Regions from separate parts of the Homo sapiens genome. Here region 1 is linked to region 2. The links are contacts of gene promoters, found by promoter capture Hi-C in blood cells and fetal thymus (Javierre and others, 2016). All regions are on one chromosome and are shown on one strand. The core of a region is centred on a gene start or on the middle of the fragment in contact, and the rest is flanking DNA. Distances in the headings are between cores, read along the strand shown.

Region 1 (2,700 bases), core at 58-2,557, 660 kb after region 2:
CCACCCACAGAATCCTACTTGAAAGCTGTGAGATTGATCTCCCTTGCCCAACCCCCTACCTCCTCACCACATTTTCTGCAGAGACGTGTGTACATCTTGCTGCCGCCCAATCTTTTAGAATGTCATTAAGTGTCAAAACATACCTCATTTTATTTCTGATCACAGCTTCTTATGATATGGCTTATTTGGCTCTCATTCTCATCTCAAATCTTCACAAAACTTTTGATTCAATGCAATTTGATTCATGTACTGTGGATTAAAAAGTTACTCATGTAGCAGGCATTGATCTACGAGATTTACATATACTCTGTTATCTAATCCTGGCTGCAGTCCTATCCACTATGTACTACTATTATTATCCCCTTTTTGCAGATAAGGAAACCAAGGCATAGAGATGTTATATATCTTACATGAGGTCAGGAAGCTAGAAGAGACAGAGCCAACAATCTTGCTCAAGCCATCTGTTTCTAGCATGCTCTTATCCCTTCTAATAGGCATTCCCAATGATGTCCAAGGTCTTTCTAATTGACACTGATTACTTTCAATTCTCCTATCACACTTCTGAGCACAACATTGTAGGAAAATTTTTCCAGTTAGTTGGCATATAAAGGTGAAAAGTTTCATTGTCATCAGAGAAAGAAATCATAGCTGACTCCTCCGTTGAATCCATACAATTTGTGTAGCAATTATATTTCCTCCTCTACTCCAATGAAGGCATTTTTAGAACCAAAGTCATATTTTCTGTTTCTTTAAAAACAAAAACAAGCTGAGTGTATCATAGGTATTTTAAAATATGCATGTCTTCTAACTGGATCATACTTAGGTAACTTTTGCTCTGATACGAAAAATGTTTGAGATGCTTTCTCAAATTAAACCAGAGTTTAATTCTTCAGAAAGCAATTAAAAATATTAAATGCTTTTAGATTTTAAGGTCTGTTGCTTCTTTCTGCATCTTCTAGAGAAGTTCCTTGAAAAATTAGCATCGGCTTTACAACAGTCATTCCCATCCTACAAAGAATGACAGACCATATTATTCCTAAGTACGATCCAGTCCCAGGTTCTCTGAAGATTGTTCACTTTGAAAATGAACCCCAGACCACATCTAGGTTACTTTCCAGATAGGATTTTGCAAGTATATAAGAGATTAATTTTCTTGAACAATTTCAGGCTTGGTATGCAAAGTCAAACATGTAATCAGGTGCAGACGTTGTACCAGACACCTCAGTAGGATGTCTTGAAGTTCCCCTGGAATGTAGTGGTGAACTGGTTAAAAAAATAATTATAAGACTAGCGGTAAGGTTTTGGCTGAATACTACTTTTGTCCAGTATCAATCAATTAAAATGAAAGAATTTTTATGGTTGTTCAAACAAATATCCGGGTCCATCTGTGGCTATTTTATTTATGGCATTGCTGTTTTTCACCAACAACAAGTTGGCTAAAAATCAGGTTTTAAAATCTTAATTAGAATCAAAACATGATCTTCTCATTTAACGCCTCCGTTCAAGTTCATGTTACTGCTGTGTAGAAAACGGAGTCTGCTTTCTGGAGGCAGATCCTGACTCCTGCACCATGGTAATCTACACAGCCGGCCCACAGCTGAGGGATGAGCTGTATTTCTTTAAGTATTTTTATTAGGCTGATTCCCACAAGTTTAAGAACACTGTAATCGGAGACACTGCAAGGCCACATTAAAATAAGAGGAGGAAACTGAACTCTCATTCAACCCGTTTCCATGAAGTTTAGAATTTTCAACTCATTTCAAAGCAGAGGATGTTCCTTTTCACATCCTTCATGTTTTGTAAACACTGCAAGTGCTACTGGCTTCGTTTTCATTAGTAGGAGCCACCAGCTTATGTTTATTATTTTTAATTATTAGACCTTCTGCAAAGAGAACACTACTGCTGACAATTTATATTAGTGATGATGCATCCTGATTGGTCAGAGGTGTTATTCCCTCCTTCTTTCCTCACTAGTAATGTTTGTGATTATTTATAACCTCCACATTTTGGTGTGTCGTGTTTTTCCCCCAAACAATTTTCTGTGACACCAGTTAACAATGCGTAATTACGATAACCAAGGCTGGGTCTATCTGATGCCGAAGCATCCGGTTGGAAGGCGAAATTTAGTCAAACATCTGAATGTTTGAGCTGCATAGGGCCAAACATCTGGATGTTCCCAAATATTTTCTCAAATATTTGGAAACATCCACAGATTTCTCCTTGTGTAGACAAAACATCCAGATGATTAACTGAATGCTTCTCTTTTCATCTGGATATTTGGCCACTGAATTTTCTTTGGGTTCTCTATATAAGAATATCTATCCAGCTGTTTTACATAGCCATTGCTACACCAAAACAAGAAACACAGGGAAAAAACACATCCTATTGCTCCAAGGCAAGTCTATCTAGTTTTCAGTAATTGTGACAAACACCACACTGAAGCATAAATTACCTCCAGAAGGAGAAATCTTTCTGTAGTCTCCTCTTATCCACGGTTTTGATTTCTGTGGTTTCTGTTACCTGCGGTCAACCATGGTCCAAAAATATCAAATGGAAAATTCCAGAAATAAAGAACTCATAAGTTTTACATTGCTCACCATTCTGAGTAGTGTGATGAAATCTCACACCATCCCACTCCATCCCGCCTAGGATGTGAATCATCCTTGGTTCAGTGTATCTGTGCTGTCTACACTACCCACT
Region 2 (2,700 bases), core at 106-2,605:
CTCAAAAGCCGCACCGCGCAGTAGAGGTCTCCAGGGGCCCCCACTCGCCCCCAGTGACTACGGAGCGGCCTCTACCTCCCGCCGGCGCCTGGCCACTTCTCCTCCCCCGCAGTCTCCGCTTGATTTCCATGTGACTGCAGGCAAGAATAGCCCAGCCTTTGTGCCTCTGCAAAGAACGCAAACAAAAATGTACACCATCACCACCCAACAAACGCGCAACTCCGCAAGACACAAAGCGTCTCCCAAACATCGCTTCCCTGGTAACATCCGGCATCCTGGGGCTGCCAAATCGCAGACAAAGACGCCCATCAGCGCGGGGGGTGAGGAGACTAAGGGAGAGACAAGACCAACGTGCTCCCACCAACGGGAGCGGCGGTTAAAAGGGCGCCGGTGCCAGGGGTGAGGGACGGGGCACCGGTACCAATTAGCGGCTCGCCTCGGGGTCCCCGCGGCTAAGGCGAGAACGCAGGACCAGGAGCATTGCTGCCCACTCTCTACCGCAACCCGCACATCCCGGGACCACGTAACGGCGGATGGGGCGTCCGGGAGCGGCCCCTGCAGGGGAGAGCAACAGGCTCCCGCGCCCTGGAGGCCTGGTCTGCGCTCCGGGCCCCCAGGCTAACACCCCACCCCCAGCCCCCCGACACCAAGACTGTGCCCCTCTGGGTCAAGGAAAAGGAAAAACTTTTAAACCTCTTAGTCAGCGAGAGCAAAAGAAAGGGGTGGCGGGGGTGCTGAAAGGTCTAGGATTATCCACCGCGGGGCTGGGGGGAGTGGAGACTTGCGAGTAGCAAAGGAAACTTCTAGACCCCATCCTTTTAAAAAAGCCACAGCAGCGGCTTCCGCGAAGCGCCGGGCCGCGCGGGGTGGGGCAAGCGCACCGCCCCACCGCCCCACGGCCCGCCGCCACCCCTACCCCCACCCCCACCCCCACCCCCATCCCCGCCCCCACCCCCACCCCCAAGCGCCGAGCCCAGGGCGCCCGCGCACCTTCCCCGCCGGCGCGCGCGCAGGGCGCGGGGGCGCGCCTCGGCCTCTGGGCCGGGGCTCAAGCGCCGCTTACCCGGCTCGCGGCGCCCGCCCAGGGCCGCGACGCGAGGGGGCGGAGGACTGGGGAGCAGGGGTCGCCGGGGCCTCTGGATGCCTCGCCTCGCCCACGCTCACTGTCTTCTCTTCTGAAGTAACGACCCGGCGAGGAGCTTCGGATCAAAACGCACAGACACTCACGCGTGACTGAGAAACTTAATCCCGCGGTGGCCCGACGCCAGCCTAGCGCTCCGCCGCGCCCCCTCCCCCAGCGCGCGCCGCACTTGCGCCGACCGGGGCTGCCGCGGAGGCGGTGGCGGGGCCCAGGCTGCTGGGGCTGCCGTGACGCCTGCGACCGGCGGGGCGGCGGGCGCGCCTTGGCCAATCAGGGGACGCGGCCGAGCAGGCCTGTGCGGGGTTTTAAACTCGCTCCTGGGCCGCTCGACCTGGGGTGTGGGTAGTGGACTTGTGAGGTGGTCAGATAAAATATAGGCTGCTCTGTTAAATGGGAATTTCAAATAAAAAAAAAAAGGAATAATTTTAGTACAAGTATATCCCATGCAATATTTGGGACGTACTTATGCTAAAAAGTTCTTCGTTGTTTATCGGAAATTCAAATTTAATGGCAGTCTTGTATTTTTATCTGCCGATTTTGTCAACCTGCGGAAACTGATAGCCTGTTTCTAGCTCCTCAGATTTTCCTTATGTGCACTGCCCTGTGGATGCTTTCTGCATGGGTAGCTTACTGAATGGCATAGGATGCTTATGAGAAGCGCTTTAATCAGAAGGGTGGGGGCAGTCCTCTCACTTTCTAAGTAACTTTTCGCACATCAGGGTGCATTCTTAGTCTGATGATCCAATTAAAAAGCAAAAACAGTAAACATGGAAAAGTTATTAGAGTTGCATGGCCCCAGGAAGAACAGATATTCATTTCTATTTTGTGCCACTTAAGATTTTCTTTCTGTTATCCTCAATTTGGAAGTCCCACGAATTTTTTTCTGCATAAGAAACTCTTTTTCAAAATATCCCTCTGATATTAGATTATAGGACCAAAGGATACTCAGAAGTCCAATTTAGAACATTTAAAAGAATTTCTTTTAATATTCTGAATAAAAATACTTTTTTCTCATATTCCTTGGACTTTCAAACACATTCACAGCTGTTGACCTCTCTCTTCCTAGAGTCCTCCCCACCCCACCCCTCTTGTAATTCCATGCAATCACACTCTTGGTTTTGCTTCTTCCGCTTAGTCAAGGGCGGATGTATGGGCTCTGAAGCTTGTACAATTGGGAGCTCTGCTTTAACCAAAAAAAAAAAAAAAATCTTTCTTTAGAAAAATTCAAAAAATAAATGCCCATGTAAACACATTGCTAGGGTTGCTCCCAGGCAAGAGAAGGACCCGGAACGTTAAGCTACATCAATTTCCAGGTAGATCTGCCCCTGTCCCCAGGCCACTCTTCAGTCTTCTTTGCCTCCTCTCCCCCAATCTTTAGATGCTGGAATTCCTTAAAAATCAGTTACGGGCCCTCTTTTCCTTTTAACTCTTACCTCTAAATACATTTTCACTTCTAGCTTATGATCTCGTACCTACAGAATCTTACATTTATACCTTCAGATTTATCCATATATTCAAGTGTTTATTTGGCTTCCCTGTTTGCTTGTCTCAAACCTAGA

The links. Contacts are between HindIII fragments. The CHiCAGO score rates a contact against its expected background, and 5 or more counts as called.
Region 1: a fragment that was not itself captured here is called in contact with the fragment with the promoter of MPDZ in region 2 in 3 of 17 cell types (total CD4 T cells, endothelial precursors and activated CD4 T cells); the score reaches 5.2 in total CD4 T cells.

The regions. Positions count from the first base shown.
Region 1 is chr9:13,940,260-13,942,959 of GRCh38, forward strand. All of the region lies in intron 1 of LINC00583 (long intergenic non-protein coding RNA 583), which reads left to right. LOC101929507 (a long non-coding RNA gene) reads right to left here. Exons shown (of 8, transcript XR_001746621.2): 5 at 144-249. Among named protein-coding and RNA genes, the nearest start is that of LINC00583, 14 kb to the left of the region's middle. RefSeq lists an enhancer at 1-105. The HindIII fragment of the contact is 4,835 bases long and covers 1-2,700 here.
Region 2 is chr9:13,278,337-13,281,036 of GRCh38, forward strand. MPDZ (multiple PDZ domain crumbs cell polarity complex component) reads right to left here and starts at 1,356. Exons shown (of 47, transcript NM_001378778.1): 1 at 1,064-1,356. RefSeq lists enhancers at 1-263, 264-979. The HindIII fragment of the contact is 3,139 bases long and covers 1-2,301 here.